Regions from separate parts of the Homo sapiens genome. Here all the other regions are linked to region 4. The links are contacts of gene promoters, found by promoter capture Hi-C in blood cells and fetal thymus (Javierre and others, 2016). All regions are on one chromosome and are shown on one strand. Each heading gives the region's core, a stretch centred on a gene start or on the middle of the fragment in contact. The rest is flanking DNA. Distances are from core to core; before and after follow the strand shown. Region 1 overlaps NNT (nicotinamide nucleotide transhydrogenase). Region 2 overlaps C5orf34 (chromosome 5 open reading frame 34). Region 3 has its middle 2.8 kb from the start of PAIP1. Region 4 holds the start of RIMOC1 (RAB7A interacting MON1-CCZ1 complex subunit 1). Region 5 overlaps C5orf34 (chromosome 5 open reading frame 34). Region 6 overlaps PAIP1 (poly(A) binding protein interacting protein 1). Region 7 overlaps NNT-AS1 (NNT antisense RNA 1).

Evidence for each region. The method cuts DNA at HindIII sites, captures the fragments that hold promoters and counts their contacts. A CHiCAGO score of 5 or more calls a contact.
Region 1: a contact is called between a fragment that was not itself captured here and the fragment with the promoter of RIMOC1 in region 4, in 1 of 17 cell types (naive CD8 T cells). The highest score is 5.4, in naive CD8 T cells.
Region 2: a contact is called between a fragment that was not itself captured here and the fragment with the promoter of RIMOC1 in region 4, in 2 of 17 cell types (naive CD8 T cells and non-activated CD4 T cells). The highest score is 6.5, in naive CD8 T cells.
Region 3: a contact is called between a fragment that was not itself captured here and the fragment with the promoter of RIMOC1 in region 4, in 7 of 17 cell types (non-activated CD4 T cells, total CD4 T cells, naive CD8 T cells and 4 more). The highest score is 11.1, in non-activated CD4 T cells.
Region 5: a fragment that was not itself captured here is called in contact with the fragment with the promoter of RIMOC1 in region 4 in 3 of 17 cell types (neutrophils, fetal thymus and naive CD8 T cells); the score reaches 6.5 in neutrophils.
Region 6: a fragment that was not itself captured here is called in contact with the fragment with the promoter of RIMOC1 in region 4 in 1 of 17 cell types (neutrophils); the score reaches 5.2 in neutrophils.
Region 7: a fragment that was not itself captured here is called in contact with the fragment with the promoter of RIMOC1 in region 4 in 2 of 17 cell types (total CD4 T cells and non-activated CD4 T cells); the score reaches 6.4 in total CD4 T cells.

The regions. Positions count from the first base shown.
Region 1 is chr5:43,615,968-43,619,328 of GRCh38, forward strand. NNT (nicotinamide nucleotide transhydrogenase) reads left to right here. Exons shown (of 22, transcript NM_182977.3): 4 at 1-98; 5 at 3,065-3,152. Among named protein-coding and RNA genes, the nearest start is that of NNT-AS1, 14 kb to the left of the region's middle. The HindIII fragment of the contact is 2,643 bases long and covers 658-3,300 here.
Region 2 is chr5:43,488,337-43,491,492 of GRCh38, forward strand. It overlaps C5orf34 (chromosome 5 open reading frame 34), which reads right to left. Exons shown (of 13, transcript NM_198566.4): 11 at 2,295-2,393. The region is part of intron 2 of C5orf34-AS1 (C5orf34 antisense RNA 1); the gene reads left to right. Among named protein-coding and RNA genes, the nearest start is that of C5orf34-AS1, 6.0 kb to the left of the region's middle. RefSeq lists an enhancer at 477-646. The HindIII fragment of the contact is 440 bases long and covers 1,488-1,927 here.
Region 3 is chr5:43,558,089-43,561,757 of GRCh38, forward strand. No RefSeq gene overlaps it. Among named protein-coding and RNA genes, the nearest start is that of PAIP1, 2.8 kb to the left of the region's middle. The HindIII fragment of the contact is 889 bases long and covers 1,014-1,902 here.
Region 4 is chr5:41,902,396-41,905,935 of GRCh38, forward strand. RIMOC1 (RAB7A interacting MON1-CCZ1 complex subunit 1) reads left to right here and starts at 1,949. Exons shown (of 6, transcript NM_175921.6): 1 at 1,949-2,072. The coding sequence starts at 1,973. RefSeq lists enhancers at 1,382-1,521, 1,633-2,179, 1,932-2,051. The HindIII fragment of the contact is 10,560 bases long and covers 1-3,540 here.
Region 5 is chr5:43,505,117-43,508,671 of GRCh38, forward strand. C5orf34 (chromosome 5 open reading frame 34) reads right to left here. Exons shown (of 13, transcript NM_198566.4): 3 at 3,461-3,550; 4 at 632-1,278. C5orf34-AS1 (C5orf34 antisense RNA 1) reads left to right here. Exons shown (of 3, transcript XR_007058763.1): 3 at 1,092-2,081. Among named protein-coding and RNA genes, the nearest start is that of C5orf34, 8.3 kb to the right of the region's middle. The HindIII fragment of the contact is 1,624 bases long and covers 600-2,223 here.
Region 6 is chr5:43,523,887-43,527,260 of GRCh38, forward strand. It overlaps PAIP1 (poly(A) binding protein interacting protein 1), which reads right to left. Exons shown (of 11, transcript NM_006451.5): 11 at 2,381-3,374. Among named protein-coding and RNA genes, the nearest start is that of C5orf34, 10 kb to the left of the region's middle. The HindIII fragment of the contact is 1,815 bases long and covers 587-2,401 here.
Region 7 is chr5:43,593,349-43,596,562 of GRCh38, forward strand. All of the region lies in intron 1 of NNT-AS1 (NNT antisense RNA 1), which reads right to left. Among named protein-coding and RNA genes, the nearest start is that of NNT, 8.2 kb to the right of the region's middle. The HindIII fragment of the contact is 6,357 bases long and covers 1-3,214 here.

The DNA.
Region 1 (3,361 bases), core at 729-3,228, 1.7 Mb after region 4:
TCCCAAAGAAAAACTACAGTTCTGGCAATGGACCAGGTTCCAAGAGTCACAATTGCTCAGGGATATGATGCGCTAAGCTCCATGGCCAACATTGCGGGGTAGGTTCTTTTCCATTTCAATTGAACAAAAGCGCAATAGTGCTACAGAAACCTTCACACTGTAGCTCTTCTGTCTTACAGTGATTTTATTTGTAATTATTGTTGGAGATTACAGCCTTTTGAGAGTGCATTTAAATTATTTTTGACTCATTTTATTGTTTTACAGTAATTAGATAGGAAATGAACTCTATTTATATTCCTTTTTAATCTTAATGAGTAGAAGAGTAGTAATGTTTCCATTCACCAAAGCAAATAGCTGTCAGATTATTTGTATGAGGAACACACTGTATTTCATAAATGTGTGTGTACATGTATATGTAAGGTTGAAGTTACTGTTTTTATAGGTCAAAAATGGTAGAATAGTGACAATTTCATGTGGTTAAATTAATATGCATATATTAGTGGATTTGCTGTCTTAATTAGGTTTTGCTTAGGTAAATTTATAAAATATTTAAAGAATAGGAAAAAGGTCTGGACTAGAGGAAGTTTCATCTGATGTCAAAACCCATATTGATAACTGAGGGCTATGTCTTCGACCTTTAAGGTCAAGATGGTAATAAGCTTCATTTGCCCAATAGCACTAATACATTCTATGTTGATTGCCTGGAGTACTATGTTGAGAAGGATTCTAAGGCCCATTCTGCTTGGAGGAATGTGGCTATGATTGAGTAATCATGCCTGCCATGGGTGAGGGACAGGAATAGCTACATGAAAGCAGTGTACTGCTGACTTTGCCTTAAAGGGTGGGAACAATCTGGAAATGGGATAAGGCTTATGAATCAACTTCTCTAAGAAACTAATTAAATTAGATTTTAATCATGAAAACTATTAGTAGTTGAGAATTTGCTAATATTAATGAGGCACAAAGAAAATAACCTTTTTAAAAAAACAGTGCATAAAAAGACACTAACATGACTAACATGAATAAAGCCTTCTATAGCCTGACACCTAAGCAGAAAGTTTTCTTAGGTTTTATATTTTAGCATAGGAAATATGTCATAGATTCTACTTTGTGTTTTAGCTGCACACTTTTAAATTTATTTAGCCTGTAAGGGAGTTATATTATGCAATGTGTGACTTAAAATTTTATCTAGAAAATGTATAATGTAAAGTTTTAAGGGTGCTGTTGATTCTGAAATACACATATGTGAAAGAATATCAAAACCAGTCGCTCTAGATCAAGTGGTTTTAGCTGTTGAATCTTTTGAGCAAATGAAATATTATGAGACAATATAAATAAATCCAGTAAGAGCTGAGTAGCTTTGGGTACACTGAGTATGGCAGGATTGTGCAGAAACATTCCTACTCTCCATCTCATCCACTATGGCCCCAGATTTGTCTGAAGTTTAAACCTTCAGGGACCCAGGGATCACAATTTGAGGAATCACTCTTCTATGTCCTGAGCTGATATATGCAGAGAGCATAGTGTGAAAGGAATCATCTAGTATACATATCCATACAATGTATGATAAATCATTATCCGTCTCATTCATACACACAGCCATATTACAGTGAAGATGTGCTACTTCCACTTCATTACTGTTCATTCTGAACTTTTTTGCTGTCATGAAGAAAATGTCCAATTTATTACTTTTTTCACTATCAATGTTTCCTCGTACATTTCCTGTGTAATCTCCTTTTATTATTTATTTTTCAGAATAGCAACTGAATCTTTTAGAGCATTAATTCCACAATTAATTTCTTACAGTGGCCTTTGAATCTTTGTCATATTTGCCCATTAAAAATTGCTGTCATTTGAATTCAGGAGAGCAACAGATACTGTAATCTCTAAAGTATTGTTTTTTGCTCCAGTGTGATTAACTTAATAATGGTGACTTTATATGTTTTTGCATCAATTATTGTATCAAGTATTATTATGTAAAAATATGATCAGGGAGAAGATTTTCTTGTCACCTAGCAGGGGAGTTTTAATAGTTGCTTTATAATATTGAGCCAGTGTATATATTACCAAGTAAGAATGCAAAAGTGCCTTTTACATATAAATTGCTATGAAAATGAAATTAGTGTAGCATGTTAAAAATATCCTGTTAAAGAAAAGATGATGCATATTATTTGATTTATTAAATAGTTTGTTTCTTTGGCTAAAACACTTAATATTCACTGAGCATTTTCTATGTGACAGGCTTTATGCGAAGTGTTTCACCTGCGTTATCTCATTTAGTCCTCACGACCCTAAAAGATAGATGCTTTTTGTCCTTACTTTATAGATGAGGAAACCAAGGTTTAGAAAATTTTAAAAATTTGCCCAAGGTCACAAAGGTAATCAGTCAGAGAACTAGGACATGAACTAAGGTCAGTATATCGGAAAATCCCATACTTTGAACCATTAGAGATCAAGGGAAGTGTTTCTTCTGTTCTCCGAGGTTGAAATCTTATTTTGTACAAGCCTATGGCTGACCTAATTTTTTTTATTTTAAGGATTTTCCCCCCATTACCTAAGCACTACCCAGTCATCAAACAATATTTGGACTATATAGTAAAGTAAGTGTGAAGGATGTATAGTCCTAGTACCCAAAGAAAACCATTGTTAGTATTTTCCTATCTTTCTTTCATTACATTTTCTATTATGTTCTACAGTACTTGTTATGAAGAGGGTGGGTGCATAATGGATAAGAGAGTGCCTCTGTAGGCAGACTGCCTGTGTTAGACTTCTGGCTCTACCATTTACTAGCTGAGTGACCTTAGGCAAGTCTCTCAGTCTGTATCTCAGTTTTCTCACCTATGGGATGAAGACAGTAATTGTACCTTTCCATAGGCTTGTTGTGCAAATTAAAGGAGCAAGTGTATATACAACACTTAGAACTGTTTTTGACACATAGTACATACTACATAAATATTAGCTATTATTCTTTGACAAAACTTCATTGATGACTTATGATGATATGTGAGTCTGAGATCTCTCCTTTTATGGAATTATTTATTTATTTATTTATTTATTTTTAAAGTTATAAGGCTGTTGTCCTAGCAGCAAATCATTTTGGACGTTTTTTTACTGGTCAGATCACAGCTGCTGGAAAAGTTCCTCCAGCTAAGGTAGGTACAACTTTTAATGTTTCTTTATAATATGCATTGATTAAAGGAAAGGGTATGTATAGTCTTAAAATACAGTTATTTAAAAATTTTTATATGTTAACCTCACTGATGACTTTTTGGTGTGTATAAATATTTCACGAAACCTCAAAGCTTAACGTTTAAGATTGCTAGAAAAAAATGAACTTTGACTTTCTGAAAGTTCTAGTCTT
Region 2 (3,156 bases), core at 458-2,957, 1.6 Mb after region 4:
TCCTTCCTTGAATTCCTATAGCATATTAATTAATCACATACTTATTTGTAATATCTTCTCTTGAACTATTTAACTTCCTGCTCTTCCTACCTAGATTGTTTCTCTCAGAAGAAAGGATTTTTTACTTTTCTGTACTTGTGCATATATTAAGACCTCATTTATATGGAACTCTTTGGGAATGGATGGTATGGGAGATCCAAGTTTTTAAATAGTTGAATTACGTGTCAAAACAACTATTTTTTATTAAATTCTTTCTGGAATAGACTACCTACTTATTTCATTGTTTTTTTAAGCACAGAGGGTTAACATGATGAACATTAGCTCTTATACCATGTTCTATAGAAAGATAGTGGGACAACTGGTATGGAGTAGAGGGCTAATATATACGTCTCCAGCAGAACCCCTAAGTGTGTGTTCTTTATCCTTTTTCTTATCAAGTTAGAATGAAATATGAGCAATGGCATACAACTACAAACTGTAACTTGACTAGCTCTCTGCAAAATTAATGAAGACATTAGTCTAAAATATTCAAGTCACCAGAAAAATCTTCACAGTTCGTAGTAGGTTGTGTGACTTGTCTGCTTTATTGGCTTTACTACAACAGATCACATGCACCTCCCTGTCAGCTTGTACTCTTTCCCTTGTACTCCAGCCTATGGATGGAGAATGAAAAGAAATATTTCATAATTTTAAACACCTGTGGCAAAGAACTTGGATACAACTTACCCCAACAACCAGCTGATTGTTCATTATTGCAAAATATCTTTTTTTTTTTAAACCCAACGCATTTTTCTGGATGTAAGAAACAATACAACCTTTATTGTTATTGCTCTCATAATGAACGAACTTTTTATGAAACGTACTATTTGTTGACTAAAAAGTTGAATTAATAAGCTAATAATGGAGGGTGTGGCGGAAAAAAAATACTAGAATACAACTTAGGTAGCTTTTTATTGTACAATCTTGTTTCTTCCTTCAACCTACCCTCTTTGATAAGAAAAACCGAAGTGGAGATACCTAAGGCTTTATAGGGGGAATGGAGCTACTCCTCAATTTCTTTATCTTGCCTCTGCTGTTCCTAGTTGCTTTCACCTTTAGCTACTATCACCAATCTCTACTTGCAGTTTTTAGTGTGTATTGACAGCCTCTTCTCAGCTTTCAAATAAAAAGGCTGATGATATTTTACAAACTGCCAGCTAAGCAATGGTGAAGTGATGGTTTTATAGACAAGTACAATTTTCCTTCCATCACAATTGTTTTTTGCTAGTTACTTTAGCAACTTTTCTGCTTCCAAACAGGCTACAGCTAAAGGATGAGGGATCTGCAAAGCTGGATCCTTAAGCTACCTGAGATATTCAAATAACGCTTACTGATATGATTTGATTTGTTCTAAGAAAGGGCTTAGGAAAAGGTAACAAAAATTGGCTTAATGTTTACATTTTGTTTCACTACACTATGTTAGGTCACCTCACAAAACTTACTTAAAAAGCTTCCCAAATTGTTCCTGGTATCCCTGTCTTCCCATATATTCAGGTTAGACTCTCAGTGACACTAATCTTCTAATGACCTTTCTTCCTATCATTTTTCCATTTAGGACTTTCTAATTCCATCAGGTCTGAACTCCTATTTATTATAAGATCCATTCCTAGCCCTCAAAACTCATACTATATACTAATAGATAGCATATGTTCCATAAAAACTATCTTCTATCTCCACAGGCTAAAATATCCTTTTTACTTCTGCCCTTATTTCCTCCCTAAAATGTCTTATATTTTCACAGAAAGTTCCCTTGAAGCCCAGTTCTAGTACCCTGCACACTGAAAAGCACACAGGAGGGACTAAAATACTTGCTTTATTTGATCTGCCAGTTAATTTGGGAGAAGTAACTAATATGACAGAAATTATTTAAAAATCAATGTTTTCTGAAAGCTTATGTTATTAAACCTTTTATTTCCTTCAACATTACTAAAAATTTAAGAATCCCCTTTAAATTTTTCCATAAAGTTTTCAGGATGAATTTGTCACATAAAAAGAGCCACTCATTTTCATGTTAAGTTTTCAATGCAAGGTTTTCTTACCTTTAGGTAAAATAGAATATGATGAAATGTAATAAATTAGATGTCTGATTAGAAATTATTTTCAAGCTTAAGCTATCAAAAATACTTTAGGAGTTAAACATATTCAAAACTAAGAAAGTTTTTTTGGGGAAAAAAGTCTCAGTTTACCATTTGACATTTTAATTTTTTTTAAAGTATTAGCTCTTCTAAACAGATTTAAGTTTAAAAGAAAAATACCAATTTTCTTGGAGAACAGAAGATGACGAATGAGTGGGCATCTCTCTGGGACTAGTCTGGGTCAGTCTCCTGCACCATGATGTTACTGTTGTCACATATCTAAAGTGAATACATTAAAAGAAATACTTGAAAAATGAACTTGAATACATTATAAAATTATAAACAAATGTAAAAATAAGACAATTTGGGAAAAAAGGATAAAGAAAAAATGTTAAAGTGAAGCATTTACTGGGCAATTCTCAAAATATTTTTCACTGGTCATAGAAAAGCCAAATTTTTTCCATTATTCATCAAGAATAAAATGATTTACTTATATTTGTGATTAATACAAGTGACATTTAAGAATCAAAATAAAGGCGATATTTGGATTTCATTTAAAGTTCAATTTTAAATGTTCTAATTCTTTTAGTTTTTCAAAGTAAAATGCGTTTAAGTTTTATCAAAAAATATTCACACAAAATAAGACTGACTGAGCATTTGCTTACTAAAATTTAAACCAAAAAACACCTGCTAATGCATATACACATATGCTTGTATGCATATGTGTAATTATATGTAACTTACTACATATCTAAAACAAGTATCAAGTTTAATAAAATGAATGATCTGAAATGATTGGCTGAATCAATAGAAATGTTTGCTAAAGAAACTATCTTTTTTGAGGCAAATCATTAATAGCAATGAATGAGCACTTAGACTGAAACACAATAAAACCCAACAGAAAAATACATTCAAGAGGTAACAAAAAGCTATTATTTTGTGAATATTCTCAAGTGAAATCACTAAAATGTGAAGACTATCACAAGATTTACTGTAATAAATTAGATAAACCAAAAGAAAAAAAATTCATAAAAAGCTGAAG
Region 3 (3,669 bases), core at 208-2,707, 1.7 Mb after region 4:
CTCCAGCCTGGGCAACAAGAGCCAAACTCTGTCTCAAAAAACAAAACAAAACAAAACAAAAACCAGGTGAAATTAATTTAAATTTATTTAATCCATTATGTTCAAAATGGTTTTTTAACATGCGATTTAAAATATTAAATATTTTCTCTGTTTTTTAGATACTAGTTGAAATCCAGTGTATATTTTACACTTATGGCACATCTTAGTCGGGATTGGCACATTTCAAGGGCTCAAGAGCCACATGTGGCTAGTGGCTACTGCGTTGCACAGCACAATTCTAGATTTTATTAATATGTAAATTGTTGTTTTTGTCAGGCCTGACAGTATTAATGCCAAATAAAGGATAGATGAATATAAGTAACGACAAGGAAGGAAAAATTGATTTCTTTACTGTTGGATTGATCCATCTCCATAAATTCTGATTTTAGCCTTTTGTTTTAAGCAGGGTTTCATGTTTTTCTATCTTTTCATCTTAAGAATCATTTCAATTAGGGACACAAACTCTTGTTAACCGTTTTCTCTTCTCATTAATAAAGAAAACAATGTCTTCCCCTAAACGAATGAGAAAATGGCTTCACCGAGGGCAATCATGAATAAATGGTTCATGCTATTGATGTTAGGCAAAATAATGAAGTCAGGGAAGGAAGCCAGCAGTACGTGTGGCTCTTCGGTGTACGGAAAGTTTAGGATTCAGTCTGCCAGAGCTTAGTTGGGATTCCACTCTTGACTATTGCTGTCTGTGTGATTTTGAGTAAGTAAGGGGTTTAGCTTCTCTGAGCCTCACTTTCCTCATCTGTAAAATAATAACTGTGTGGTAACACTCAGCATATATTGCAGAGACAAGATTACAATTTAAAAATTACAATTTTAATATTTTCAAATTCATTATTGTATGTGGTCACCAGTCACTTCTTGCCTGGACTTTTTTATCATACAGGAAAGACCCATAAACTATGCTAAAAAACTAACAATGAGTTATGTTCCACTGAAGTAGATGCCCCAACTCTGCCCCAAGCTTTTGTTTGCACTCACCACCTTTTCATTTCCCCTTAAAACTTTTATGATGAACAGCACCTTTTCTAACAACTGGGACTTTCCCATGTGAAGATAAGGCCATTCTGCATCCATGGTGATGTCACGACATCTTCACACCCTCTTGTTAGGAAAATTAGGTAAGATATCCTTTGCCTTCTCTGTATTTGTTACTGTATAACTTTTGCCCTATTCTTATAATGTGTGGATGGTGGACTTGGAGATAACACGAATGGATTTTGCATCATGATAATAAAAATATCTAATATTTATTATGCGTCAGTCACCTTTTAAGAGCTTTTATTTTATCATTTTATTTTATCCTCATATCCTGTGAGATAGACATTCCAATATTTTCACTTTACATAAAAGGTGCCAAGATACCGCAAGGGCTCAGATCCATCTTGGGACTGTTTTAGAGCTAACTGGCAGGTATTGCAAAATGCATAGACAGAAACACATGAACGTGTGAACACCATGTGGAACTCCCTAAAGAGAATCATCAAAGTGCTCCTCATCCACGTGTATGCCTTTTTTATTAATTTATGGTGAAAGGAGAGTAGAACTAAATTTGGACAAATTGGAAAATATGTTGTAATATGGAAAAGGACCTGCTGTGAACTATGAAAAAAATGTTTCCTTAAACTGTACTTGAAAGGCATTCTCCAGTAAGACTTCCCAAGCTGCCTAATCTTAGATTCTCTCCCTTGTGATAAGTATACCCTGGGAAAACTGTCTTGGTACTTAGCATGCCAGATTGTTATCGTTAGTATTTGGTTTATTTAAATGTCTCCTTCCCTAAACTAGCCCTCTGAAGACAGAGGATGCCTTTTAATCCTTTAGGTCCAACCCAGTACTTAGTCCATAATAAGCTTTTAACAGAAATAGGACTCACCTGCAATGGTCCTGCCTTTCCTTAGGTCACCAGTCTAGTGATGGTAAAAAAAAAAAAAAAAAAAAAAAGACTGTTTTTTTAGAACTTATTGACCTCAGGATCATCATTAGACCTTATGGGAGTAGACAGTACAGCCTTCAAGGCCAGCTAACAGGAGAAAATTTTCATAAATATGCAAGAGGAAATATTTGCAAACCACATGGTATAGTTTGTATATTTGACCCTCCAAGCCTCCTGTTGAAACTTGATCCTGAATGTTGGAGGTGGGGCCTAATGGAAGGCGTTTGGGTCATGGTGGCAGATTCCTCATGAATGGCATGGTGCCATTCTCACAGTAACGAATGAGTTATGGTTTTACTAGTTCCCAAGGAGTTTCCCCAAGAGCTGGTTGTTGAAAAGAGCCTGGCACACTCCCCCTGTCTCATGCTTCCTCTCTTGCCATGTAATCTCTGCACACTGTCTCCCCTTCACTTTCTGCCATGCATAGAAGCAGGCTGAAGCCCTCACCAGAAGCAGATGTTGGTGCCATGCTTCTAGTACAGCCTGCAGAATAGTGAGCCAAATGAAACCCTTTTCTTTATAAATTACCCAGCCTCAGCTATTCCTTTATAGCAACAAAAATGGATGAAGGCACCACATATTTGACAAAAGACTTGTATCTAGAATATATAAAGTACTCTCAGAACTCAACTGTATTGAGAGTACTATAGCCAGGTGCGATCCCAGCACTATGGGAGGCTGAGGCGGACAGATTACCTGAGGTCAGGAGTTCGAGACCAACCTGGACAACATGTGAAACCCCGTCTCTACTAAAAATACAAAAATTAGCAGGCATGGTGATGCGTGCTTGTAATCCCAGCTACTTGGGAGGCTGAGGCAGGGGAATCGCTTGAACCCGGGAGGCAGAGGTTGCAGTGAGCCGAGATTGCACCACTGCACTCCAGCCTGGGTTGAGCGTGACTCCGTCTGAAAAAAACCCAAACAAACAAAACACCTAACTCAACTGTAAAAGGACAGTTCAGTTAGAAAAGGGCCAAACATAAATGAAAGAACACTTCACTGAAGGGAATATACAGATAGCATAAGCCTATGAAAAATGTTCAACATAATTAGCCAGTAGGAAAATTTTTTTAAAACCACTGAGATTTCACTACCTACTTATTCGAATAGCTTAAATAAACAATAGTGACAATGCAAATTCAAGGATGTAGAGAAACTAGGAACTGTGTTGCTCATACATTGCTGGTGAGAATGTAAAATGCTATAGTCACTTTAGAAAACAGTTTCTTTAAAAAACTCTACATATTAAGTACTGTACTACCTAGCAATTGCACTGCTGGACATTTCTCACAGAGAATTAAGATTTATATTCACATAAAATCCTGTACCCAAATATTTAGAGTGGCATCATTAATAAGAGCCCCAAATTAGAAAGAACCCAAATATCCTTTGATGAATAGTTAAACTGTGGTACATTCATACCACAGAATGCTACTCAGCAAAAAAAAGGAACAACTGCTCATATAAGAATGTTGATGGATCTCAAGGGAATTATGCTGAACACAAAATTTCAATCTCAAGAGCAATTGTATGATTCAATTTATGACAAAATTATGAAGATGGAGAGCAGATTTGTGGTTGCCAGGGGTTAAGGAGGGAGTGGAATTTAGAGGCAAGTAGATGGGGTTATTAAAAAAGTAGGTAGCATGAGAAAAACCTTGTGATGGAACTATTTTGTTCTT
Region 4 (3,540 bases), core at 699-3,198:
CACATTTATGGAGAGGGAACAGATAAAGCTGTGGTTGTAATAAAAGGGCCTTTTGAATATTTGACTCTAAATGTTTATTTTAAAAAGGAACCCTTGATTCAAATGGCGATCCAAGATCACTTCGAAATCATGAGCAAGATCTCCCAGACCCAAATCTCATGGCTAGAAAATGGATGACCTGATTACATAGATCCTAAGATGTCTTTTATAAAAGCCTGAGAAGAACAGTGGACCTGAGAGTAAAACACTTCTGCAGAGATAATTTGTAGATCCACAGTCAAAATATTTCAGCTGTGCCTTTGTCTGTTGCCCACATGTCCAGGTAATTCTTTTAAGTAGTTTAAGAATGGTAAATTACACATTTTCTAGGAGACTGAAAATTCCTAATCAAAGGTTAATTATTTTTTGAAAATTATTTTTTGAAAAGTTTAGTAAAATCTTCTGAAGGCTTCATTTAGTTCTACATCTTGTAGAAGATTCAGAAGGCATCAGGTGTAACCTTCTGCTCTTTTCTCTATCCATTGCTGGCTCCCTACTTTCATTTTGAATTTATCCCTATTTCCCTATTTTTCCCCCTTTGTGTACAGATACGATCATTCTCCACCCTACCTTCCAGCACTTGCCCCTCTTCAACTACCACCTTCTCCATCCCTTGTTGAGAAAGCCTTCTCTCAACTTCTTGTTTATACTTAGATTCTTTTTTTCCTCACCTACAATTCCCACACTATTGAATAATTGTCTACTCCCACAGACCACATCATATCCCCTTGCCATCTTGCTTGTTGACAAGAGTGCATATGTGCCAGGCACTGTATGAGGCACCAAGGACACAAAATACATGATTCCTGTCCTCTATATTTAGGGTGAATTGTCAGAAGAAACTGGTATTACAAAGGTCAGTTAGAGAGTCATTGTGGTCAATCACTTATAAATCACAATACACTTTTTCTCTATTTTTAGTATTTTTCTATTACATATAAAAAACTACCTTCCATGAGAAACAATAGGATGGAGATTATTCAAGATATAGTGTGTCAAACTGAGAAATGAATACACAGAGTTAACGATTTGTTTGACCAGAGGCAAGAAAGCATTCACAGAATGCAAAGTGAAGTTAGACTTGCTGACTGAGTGCTTTGAAACTCCCGATTGAGAGGATGAACCTCATGCACAATTAGCGCCTTAAGGGAAGGTCTTGAGATGAAAGAAAAATGAAAATAGTTTTGTGGCCGCAGAATTTACTACCACTGGACGCAAGATGTCTAAAGTACTTTAAATGTGAACTCCAAGGGAGGTCAGAGATAAATTCGACTGCTAAAAATCAGATTTACAAAAGCAATATTCAACCATGTAGACTGGCAACTCCACTAGTGTTTGGAGCTCCCCATCCAGATGTACAACAAACTCTTGGAGACTTGGATGTGTTACACAGGGGGCCGGTCGGGTTTCCATTTAGGACCAGGAGATTATAATCACTTTATTTTAGCAACCTCCTTACTACAAGGCCAAAACTGACAGTCCTCTCTCCAGACCCTCGCGTCCGCCCTCCAGACTGTGCTTCCCGCGCCGGACAGGGAAGTGGGAGTGCGGACGACAATCCGCATCCTGCCAGCCAGACGTCACCAAGCTGTCTTCCAAGAGGCAGGCGGAGAGAGCTGACTTCCGATTGGGTCAGCCGAGGGGCACGGCTGGCTCCCTATTGGCTTACAGGAGGGGGCTAGAGAGAGGCGTGTCTCAACGTCACACCCGCCCCTAGTCTCCTTGCTGCTCAGGATTATGGGAGGGAAGGGAAGTCCAGGAGGGAAAAATGACCCGGAAAGACCTTTGCCGGCCTGGGCCAGCCCTCTTCCGGAGCTGATGTCTCCTCCCACCAACCAGGAGAGGTCCGCCCTAGGCCCCGCCCGTGCCGGGGGATCAGGTGATTGCGGGCCAACACGGTCACGTGACCGGGGCGCACCCGCCGATTGTGGCCATGGCGGCCGCAGTCTCTAGTGTGGTGAGACGAGTGGAAGAGCTCGGGGATCTGGCTCAGGCCCACATACAGCAACTTAGCGAAGCTGCCGGTGAAGATGGTGAGGGAGCGGAGGAGAGGGAGGCGGGCGGGGCAGACGGCGCTAAGGTACTGGCGCTCGATGGCTGTGAGGGCTAGAGGCTGAGGCCTGTGTTCCTTTGGGTCCCAGGCCGCAGGTGGTTACCCGAGGTCTGTCGCTTCTGAGCCCCTCTGCGCCATCGATTGCCCACTTCCCAGAACTCACAATGCCAAGGCGTTGTCTTCGAAAACCGCATTATTCAGAACCCATGGAAAATCTGTCTAGATCCGTGCTGGTGTAAACTGTCTCGGTAGCGATTGGAAGAAGGGCAGAATCTAAATAAAATACAGAAGTTTAAATAAATGGCTAAGATGAATGATAACACTCAAATTAGTTATGGTGGTTTGCATCCTGTAAAGATAAAAAGACATGTATAACAGTTCCACTTTTTCATTGCTGCGTTGTAATTTGCGTTTTACGTTTTGGATTCAAAACAACATTCTATAGAAGAGCTTTACATTGGTGTGTAGACTATTCTGCCCCATACATCATGCCAGTTCTCACAAGGGCTCTGTTAAGTATTGGCATACTTGTTTTGGAAAGGTCTAAGCTGTTAGGAAAAACTGGGCTAGGGAATTGCCTCAACCTTCTGAATTTAAGTCCAATTCTTTTCATTACGTCTCAGCTGCCTTTAGGTTCTACATTATTCCTTTTTGAGTTTGAGCAATTACTACAGATAGTTTTTAAAATTCTGTGGACTGACTCATATCATCGGACTCATAGGAAAACAGTGGTGGAACATTTTCTTAAGCGATTGAATAGTTGGTGAATTTGTTATTAAATAGGGTCTATGATGAAATGCCTTAGTTTCAGTGAATATTTTTTGCCAGATTATCATTTATCAGGAGTGTTTTGTTTTGTTTTGTTTTTAGAGGCAGAGTATCATTCTGTTGCTCAGGCTGGAGCCCCTCTAGTAGTGGGACAACAGGCGCACACCATCTCGCCCGGCTAACTTTGGCATATTTTGTAGAAACGGGGTTCACCATGTCATCCAGGTTGGTCCTGAACTCCTGGGCTCAAGCATTCCACCCGCTTTGGCTTCCCAAAGTGCTGGGATTACAGGCGTGAGCCACTGTGCCAGGCCAGGAGTGTGTTCTTTAAAGACCTACAGACCACCCTGAAGCCGACTTATATTTTGGTCTGTGGATTCACATGAATAATTCTTGGGTAGTAGGAGCTATTAACTTGAAAGTTATCTATGTTACCTCTAATTCCAGATTCACTTGAACCAGTCCAAAGAGACCAAAGAATGTTTTTTATTCACTTATCACTGAACTAAAAAGCCATTCTCATTTCCCTTGGAAGAGTTCTTTAATCTGGAATGAATCAGAGCTGGAAATAAAAGTCATGTGCTATATATGGAATTCTTGTTTGAAGGCTTTATACTTCTGAAAATTTACTAAAATAAAATGACAATGTTAGTGGTCCACATTATGAGCCGTTGATCAGC
Region 5 (3,555 bases), core at 162-2,661, 1.6 Mb after region 4:
TGTTAGTTTTTATCATTATGATTTGCACTGTTTATGCAAAGTTGATGTTACAAATCTACAATCCTTAGTGGAGTTAAAAGTTTTATACTTAGCCTTACAGAAGCCACTCCGTGTGTACCCCTTTTGAAAACAGACGTATTTATAGTCAGTGAACCAAAGACACGGGTAGCCTCTGAAGCTAGGTATGGACAAAAGAACTGTGTCAGATCCACACTCCAGCAAGCAAGGTCACGGGCTCCAGTGAGCGGCAGCAGGTGCTCCCCTGGGCCCACAGAGCCCTGTGCAGACTCCTGTCCCATCATTTAGCATACTTTAATAATCTTTTTAGGTACAGTGACCTTCACTAGATTCTAAGTTGCTATAAAGCAGGGACTGTGTCTTAGTCATCTCTGCAGTTACTGGACTTAGCACAGTATCTAGTGTAGAGTCAGCCTTCTACATTCAATGCATGGACACAGAGTAAAAAACATAAGCAACACATTTGCTAGGGAAATTATTTACTATCAGTTAAAAGCAAAATTTTGGATGAGATAAACTTTCCTTGTGAATGGTATCAGATAAAAAGAAAATTATCCAGGTTAAGACTGGTTCTGATAAAAAGCTTCATGACCAATAGCCATTACTGCATTACCTGTGTAGGTGTGGGACTGGACAGCTGAGTGACAGGGCCCTGGGAAGAACAGAAACCACTTTTCCTCTTTCCTCTGAAATATCAGAAGTTAAAAATCTACTCTGAGTTATATGTGCATCAATTTTAGACATATTGCTGATTTTATTATGAAAATGAAGTGCTAAAGACAAAGGATATTTCCATTCCTCTGGACAGGCAGCCACAGACCAGCACTGCTTGACCCATGTGTATACACATGTGTGCTTTGTACCAGGCGAAGGCAGCTCTTCCCTCCCTTCAGTTCCATTTACACAACTCATCTTCTTTAAAGTTTCTTTGGATTTCATGATCTGGCAATGAAACTCATTTTCTTTATTCTTCAGTCTCTGTCCTGGTAAATTTCCACGTATACAGATTTTGCCAGTTTTTTCAACTAGTTTATCTTTTGGGGCTTTATTATTTGTTTCTGACAACACTGCAGATGAGTCTGACTTCTGGCTAACTTTACACAAAAAATGTACTGTAAATTCATGCTGAGATCTGGGCAGGCAGAGGTATGCATGACCATCTAAAGATGTTATCTTCACAATGCCACTCTCCATATATATCATGGTACCATCTGTATCAAGACTGGGCCATCTCACTTCTGTTATGTCAATGAAGATATGCTGCAAGGAGAGGGGAAAAGAGACGGTGAGTATTTTCTGTTAACAGTCCAATTTTTCCATATATTTGATATTTAAGTATTGTGTAAGAAAGCTCTTAAATATTTGTGTTTTACTATCTACAGAGAATGAAAAAATGGAGGGCCAGATCTCAGCCTATATATGATTTTCCAGAGAATGTTTGATATTGTTAAGATTATCACCCTTAAAAAAAAGAGATGTAAAACAGACACAAAATGAGAGAAATGGTCATATTTAGTGTTAAATGTATTTTGGTTTTAAATGTACAATGAATTAAACAGATTTGTATCCCTCCCCTCACCCTGCAAAAGTTTACTCTGAAAAAAAACTAGAAATAAGGGAAGACCAACACTATGATACATTATATTAAAAGCAATCATAGCTAAAAATTTTTCTTTAAGTTTTAAATAAAAAAAAAAGCAACCATAGCTTAAATGGTACAGGACTACCATAAAAATTATTGACAGAACAACTCAGAAAATTCAAAAACAAACTCAATCATATCTTAAAATTTACATGAGATAACATAAGTTTTTCAGAGCAAGAGGGAAAAGAGAAAATTATTTAAACTAGTACTAGAATTACTGAACAGCATTTGGGAAATTCTGTCTTGCAGGGTTATCACATGAACCAAATAAGGTAACATGTAAAAAGTACCCATCCTAGGTAGTACCTGGCACACCATACACTAAAATAAATTTCAGGAGGCTTAGAGGAAACTTTAAAAAAGTTTAATTACTCAAAGAAAAATTGATTCTGACTAATAAAAGACTCATAACAAGTAACAGTGTTGATTGTGACTTTTCATATAAGATATAAACAGTAGATATTGCGTGAGAGGTTTTTACTGAATTAATTTTGCCAAGCATTTAGCATTTCAATTCCATTTATGTAAAATCTTACGTTTACACAAACTATTGTCAAGAAAGCTTCCTAAATTTACCATGCTATCTATATGTACGATGTTAGGACACTAAAATTGAGGGCTGTATTTACTGACAGCAAAGCTGGTTTGTAAGGATGGTCATCAAACTCCTCTTTTAGAATTAGACTATCTAATAATCCTGCTGCAGCATCAGCAACAAGCTAGGCAGTTTCAGTGAATAAAGTGACTCAAAAGACACAATGGAAAATTACCATTCTAGGCTAAGTTACAACTTATAATTTTTTATGGCTCCTTTGCCACGAGACAATATAAAATTACTCAGCCGGCAGGCAAGCATCTTGACAGCATAGAAAGGTAGCAGAAAGTAGTTGAGAAACAGAGTTTACAGAGTCAGATAGACTAGGTTCAAATCCTGACTTTGCCACTGAGAAAACTGCCATAGACAAATTAGGTAAACTCTCTAAGACATAATTTCCTTGCCTATAAAAAGAGGCTGCCGGCCGGGCGCGGTGGCTCACGCCTGTAATCCCAGCACTTTGGGAGGCTGAGGCGGGCGGATCACGAGGTCAGGAGATCGAGACCATGCTGGCTAACATGATGAAACCCCGTCTCTACTAAAAATGCAAGAAATTAGCCGGGTGTGGTGGCGGGTGCCTGTAGCCCCAGCTACTCGGGAGGCTGAGGCAGGAGAATGGCGTCAACCTGGGAGGTGGAGGTTGCAGTGAGCCGAGATCGTGCCACTGCACTCCAGCCCTGGCGACAGTGTGAGACTCCGTCTCAGAAAAAAAAAAAAAAAAAAGAGGCTGCCATCTAGCCAATATACCTGTTTTGATTGGATGGACATCCATTTTGATCAGTATGGTGTTATTAAATATTTCTAATATTGTTCATAGTTGTTGGACATAGTAAACCCTCAGTAAATGACAGTTATTATTCCTAAAAGTCCAAACACAATACTATATAAGCAAAATAATAAAGGTCATACCCATAGTTACATATTTCTACTATACATTAACAAATACGCTGTTACTGAAAATGGTCACATAATTACTTAATTTTGAGACCTCTGAGAATGAAAAAGTCACCAATCTAAAAATTCTGATTATAATGCTTGGATACAAAGAAAATGGCAAGGGGGATACACTATGTAACTTTGATGTTTTATAGCAATGTATCCCCAGGTGTCCTGAAAAGGAAAAAAAGGCTAAATATTAAATTACCTGTTTCTAGTTACTTGTCCTCAAATAATACTAACAAAAATGAAGTTAAAAAAATCACCTTTTTTCTTTCAGAAGGTATGATGGTTTCAGATAAAAAAGGGCAAGTAGCTGAAGAGTTTCGAAAATCTAGGGCTCGCTGTAGTTGCTCCTATG
Region 6 (3,374 bases), core at 244-2,743, 1.6 Mb after region 4:
CTCAAGCCTGTCTTCTGACAAAACCATTTATTGATTTGCAAGCAAGGGAACCAGAAGCAGCAAAGATGGTGCATTCCACAAGAGGGCAGGGGGTGCCATCTTTGGTAAGGTTTGGGTTCCCAGTGTAGGGTTCTGAGCAAGCTATAAGGGAAAGGAGACCAGTTCTGGGTTGGATGCTATTTCTGTAGCAAGATTAGATGTGAGAATTAACTAGAGATTGGTGCTGCAATGAGGTGAGGGCAAGTTTAGCAACTGGATATCCCCAGTAGTAGATGGGTTATAGCAAAATAGGTCTAAGGGTGTCACAGCCAACAAAGCAGTGGTCACATGAGGGAGTCATGATGGTATTTTATAGCTGCTGCAGGACCTAACAGTTTCATGTTAACTTTGCAGCTGCCTTGCCTGTCCCCCTGACAGTGGTGGAGCTTTTTTTTTCAGTTTGAGCCACTTTGAGTCCTAGAGTTTACTTTCATACCAAACATCCTCCTCTCATTAAATGTGAATGATTTTTCCCCCTAAAGTACAACTTAATCCATATGCATCTGTCCTCTCTAAAGATTTAATGAAATACCTAATTATAGAATTAAGCTTGCTTTCTGGCAAGACCCAGCCTAGAGTGAACGTTAAGTTTTAGACCATCCCCTAAATCACCAAAGCCCAAATCCTACCACAGATTCTAACACACTCTTACTGATGCACCCCACAACTCCCACAAGGTGTATGTTCTCCTTTACTGCAACAATAAGCTCAGGCCGGGCGAGGTGGCTCACGCCTGTAATCCCAGCACTTTGGGAGGCCGAGGTGGGCAGATCATCTGAGATTGGGAGCTTGAGGCCAACCTGGCCAACATGGCGAAACCCCGTCTCTACTAAAAATACAAAATTAGCCGGGCATGGTGGTGCGTGCCTGTAATCCCAGCTACTTGGGAGGCTGAGGCAGAATTGCTTGAACCCGGGAGGCAGAGGTTGAGGTGAGCTGAGATCACGCCACTGCACTCCAGCCTGGGCAACAAGAACAATACTCTGCCTCAAAAAACAAACAAACAAACAAAAAAAAAAACAAAACCCAGTAAGCTCAACATGTTCAGGTACAGTGTGTTCCTGGTAGTCTATGGCTGGAGAGCATTAACAACATAAAGACAGAGGGTCAGAGTTGATGACAACTTCTAGGTTAAGACCAATATTTGTGGTTTTTTTTTTTTTTTTGCCAGAACGCAAGACTATATTTACTAGCAGCTCTGTGTCCTTGCTCATTGGAAAATGATCTTTCCTCAAGACTTGCTGACACGTTTCTGTTTAAGGCATGACAATCCTAAAGGCCAACAATTGTGGACGGGGGCAACTCTTCCTTTCATTATGTACTGGTGTAGTCAATTATGCAAAGTCTGGTCAACCAAAGACCACCAGGCTCAAGCCATCAGTTTTAAAATATGGCCACATGCTCCTTGATGGCCTATGTGATATGGCTTTAGTAACTCCCTTAGGACCAAGAGAATATAATGGAACTAATGCTGTGTAACTTCCAAATGCAGCTGCTTTCTGGGTCTTTTGAAATGGCCCTTCAGAATCCAGGCAACATGCTGTGAGAAGTTCAAGCTACATGGACAAGTGTAGATGGTTCTGGTGAACGATTCCAATCTAGTCTTGGCTTTAAAAGTCATCTCAGTACCATGAATTCAGATGATTATAGCTCTCAGATATTCAAATTACCCTCAGCCCTTAGTTTTCCTTGCCTAGGCCTCAGACATCATAGAATAAAGCCATCCCCATTGTGCCCTCTCCAAGTTCCTGAACTATAGAGTCCATGAGCATAATAAAATGATTGTTTTAAGATGCTAGATTTCTGTGCTTTTTTTATTAAGCATAATACCGGGAACAGATATTGATCTTGTCGGTAGCTACTGTGAGTAGAGCAGTAGTTGGTGACAATGAGCTAGTAGACAAATACTGGACAGTTATTCACAGAGCAGCTGCTAGAAGTTTCAAGTATATGCAGTTAGCATTCCTTGTCCCTGGTCTAATGTACCATCTCTTCTCTACACCTCCTCTCCCTCCAATATTTATAGTCAGTGCTATCTTTAGAGAACTGCAGATTATGTTAATAGCTGCCATGTTACAGGAGCCATTTTGAAAAACATTTCTTACTACAACTTCCAAAAACCACAATTACGTACATTATTTCCTTTATAGAAGGAATTTTAAAGTTTTAATGTTTTATATTTGCTAGTTTTTCAAGGTAGACTTGTTACTGAATTCTTATTCAGAGAATGAATAAAATATCTTCTAATATGATTTCTTTGATTTCAAACCATTAAGTAAATTAATTATGTCATTTAAGTTCAACAGCAAATTATTTAAAATACCAGATGCTACTTCAAAAATTTAGAGGAAACAACTATTTAAGCTTTATTTTCAAAGTCTAATTTTAATTCAGACTGAACAAACAAGCAGAAAAGTGAGAAAGCTAACTGTATTAGCAGACACAGATGTACCAAATGTAAAACAGTGGGTTATTAACAGAACTATTTACATGCATATTTACAAGCAATCCTTTTGTACACAGTTTTTAGTTAGCTGGAAAAAGATTTGACATTAGGTAAAAATATTATTTATTAGGGCTGAGGTGGTACCACATTATAGTAAAAGTATTAGAAAAGTGACCCTCAAGGTGTATCAATTATAAAGCAGATGAAAACTTGAATGACAAATATCTAGTAAAATTCTCTAGTAAAAAAGTCGATGCAACCCATGCTACAAAATAAAAGTGAGAAAGCCATATAAATAAAGCAGAATAATGTTCTAGCCTTTAAGGTAATGAAGTTAGTCAGTTGAAAAAATAAAAATAAAAAAGAACAATTCTAGAATTGGAATAAATCTTCAGTGAAGTCTTGGTTGTTTAGCTGGGAGTTCACCAAGTTGGGTTTTTCCCCCCCATGACATTTAAAAAGCCCTTGGTATCAAATAGCATCTGCATATGTAAATCAGTTGTTGATATATTCCAAGACTTTAGTGCTAAAGATTTTCAAGATTATGATTCATATTTGAAATTCAATTCATTGGGACACTAAATGTCAAACTAAAATGAAAGCTATAATACTCCTACCTAAAAAAGGATGCTACATTTTTGCAGTAATATGTATTTCCAGAAGAAGACTTTTTCCCCTCAAGAAAAGTAGAATTTAAAGGATAAGCATCTAACCAACTAGCAAAATTTTCAACATTTCATTTATTTCAAAATCGATTTTATTGCAGCCAAAACAGTAGAATTAACTGTACATAATAAACTATTATATATATATACACATTTTAAGTTATAGGGAATAAAGTTTATTTTGGCAGATAGTGTTAAACAAAATTAAAGTTGCATACATTAGT
Region 7 (3,214 bases), core at 29-2,528, 1.7 Mb after region 4:
TGTTTATAGATGACCCAGTTTATAACATTTTGGTATAGCAGCCCAAACAGACTAAGACAGAGAGTGATAAACACTATAATAATGTTAAAACTTGAGTCTTATGGAAGGGCACTTAACCTTGGATGGTCTGGAAAGGCTTCTGTGTAAAGGTCTCATCTCAAATAAAATTAAGGATTAGTAGGATAATCCAGGAAAATGAATGGGGAGGGAAAAATGAGAGGGACTTGATGTTCACAGAGGACTCCCTCTTTCTCTCTATAAAGGGGCTTCTGTTTTCCTTGCTTCTCTTGGTACCTTCATTCCCACAGGGAAGTCATTTTAGCATCCCCTCTCAGAGGATACTCTTTCCCACCAGAATCATTGAACTCAGAACCAAAAGACCTACAGTTAAGTCTCAGCTCTAATTCTTGTTGTTGTGACTTCAGATGTATCAGTTTACCCTAAGCCATTGTTTCTTCACCTTAAAACAGGAACAGGCTGGGCACGGTGGCTCACACCTGTAATCCCAGCACTTTGGGAGGCCGAGGTGGGCGGATCATGAAGTCAGGAGTTTGAGACCAGCCTGGCCAATATGGTGAAACCTCATATCTACTAAAAAATACAAAAATTAGCTGGGCATGGTGGCGTGCGCCTGTGGTCCCAGCTATTCGGGGGGCTGAGGCAGGAGAATCGCTTGAACCTGGGAGGTGGAGGTTGCACCACTGCACTCCAGCCTGGGCAACAACAGAGTGAGACTCCATCTCAAAAAACAACAACAACAAAAAACCCAGGAATAATAGAACCTTCTTCCGAGTTATTAAAGTGATTAAATCAGGTAATACATGTCAAGGTGGTGTGTAAACTGAAATATTACACAGAAAGTAACTATTCTTACTGTCCTAAGGTGGCATGATTTATGCTTTTGGACTCTTGAGCCCATTGTGGAGATTAAGAAACAAAGAATCTGTAATCATCAATATGAATTTATAGTTACTTTTCAGGTCTGACAAGTTTAAACCCTGAAATTAATTGTTCCCTGAGGCTTTCTAAAATTTTTGAGTTAATGCTATAAATTCCTACAATTTGTCGTCTACTCAAAAGCCACTACAGAGGGATGTAGTGCCTAAACTGTCACCTAACAGTAGAGTGTGCCAGCAATGCAATCTTTAGAGTACCTTGGACACTCTATCAGATAAAAAGATCACTTGAAAGGGGAATTTGACAATTAACATGCCAAATAAATGTTGAAAACACTGACTAAAGATGAGGTGTGGGGTAAGGAAGATGAAAAACCTCTTTATCCCAAATTCAGGATGGCATCCTGAACCTTCAATGTTTGCTTCCACTGATAAGAAATGATTTCATGAAATTGCTTTCTTAATCTACAGGCAATTCATTTGAAAAATTTATGCCACAGGAAAAGAGGCAATAATGAATATTTTCAGTAAGCTGAATGTACCGAATGTACCTTACTTTTATTTTTTAGATTGTGAGAGTGAGGGACTTAGTCTCAGAATAATTACAATACTTAACTTTTTTTTTCTAATTTTACAAAGAAACATTAAAAAAACAGCAAATTTGAAAGAATTTTATGTACTTACCTGTGCATCTACCACCTAGAGTCTACCATTACTATTTTACTACACCTGTCAGGCTTATTTTTTTAATTAAACATTTTATTTTGAGATAATTGGAGATTCACATGCAGTTGTATGAAATAATACAGAGAGATCCCCCCCTGTAGGCTCTACCCAGTTTCCCCTAAGGGTAATATTTTGCAAAACTATAGTACAATATCATAACCAGGGTATTGACATTGATGTAATCAAGATACAGAATATTTCTATCACCACAAGGATTTCTCGGGTTGGCCTTTTATAGCCACAGCTACATCTCTTTTACCCTCACCCCCTCCTCAAACTCTGGCAACTACCAATCTGTTCTCTATTTTGATAATTTCATTTTTTCAAGAATATTATATAGTGGGCCAGGTGCAGTGGCTCATGCCTGTAGTCCCAGCAGTTTGGGAGGCCGAGGCAGGCGGATTGCTTGAGGCCAGGAGTTGAAGACTACTCTGGCCAACATGGTGAAACCCTGTCTCTATTAAAAATGCAAAAATTAGCTGGGCATGGTGGCAGATGTCTATAGTCCCAGCTACTTGGGAGCCTGAAGTGGGAGAATTGCTTGAACCCAGAAGGTGGAGGTTGGTGTAAGCCGAGATTGAACCACTACACTCCAGCCTGGGTGACATAGGGAGATTTGGTCTCAACAACAACTATATATATACACATTATAAATATATATAATAATACATATACTTATATATATACATTATATATTAAATATAATGTATAATGTATATATAGCTATATAATCTATAATTATAGATTATAGCACTTTGGGAGACTGAGGCAGGAGGACCACCAGAGGCCAGGAATTTGAGACCAGCCTGGACAACATAATGAGACCTTCATTTCTACAAATAAAAGAGAATGTTACGTAAATGGAATAGTAAGTATGTAATCTTTTAAGACTGGCTTTTCCCTCTTAGCATAATTCTCTGGGGAGTGATCCAAGTTGTTGAGTATTTCAGTAGTTCATTCATTTTCATTGCTGAGTAGTCTTCCATGGTAAGCATGTATAACAGTCTGTTTAACCATTCACCTGTTGAAGGACATATGGGCTGTTTCCAGTTTTTGGCTCTTATGAATAAAGCTACTATGAACAATTATGTACAGGTTTTTGTGTGAACATACATTTTGTTTCTCTGTGACAAATGCCTGGGAGTATAAATGGTAGAACCATATGGTAGTTACAGGTTTTTTAAAGAAACCATCAAACTGTTTTCCAGTTTGACTATATCATTTTATACTCTCAGCAGCAATGTATGAATAATACAGTTTTTCCCCACCCTTGCCAGATTTTGATATTATCGCTATTTTTCGTTTTAGGCATTTTTTTTTTTTTTTTTTTGGACAAGGTCTGGCTCTATCGCCCAGGCTGGAGTGTAGTGGTACAATCCTGGATCCTAGCTCACTGCAACCTCTGCCTCTCAGGCTCAAGCCATCTTCCCACCTCAGCCTCCTGAGTAGCTGAAACTACAGGCACATGCCACCATGCCCAGCTAATTTTTGTATTTTTTGCAGGGATGGGGTTTCGCCATATTGCCCAGGCTGGTCTCGAACTTGTGAGCTCAAGCAATCTGCCCGCCTTGGCCTCCTAAACTGCTGGGATT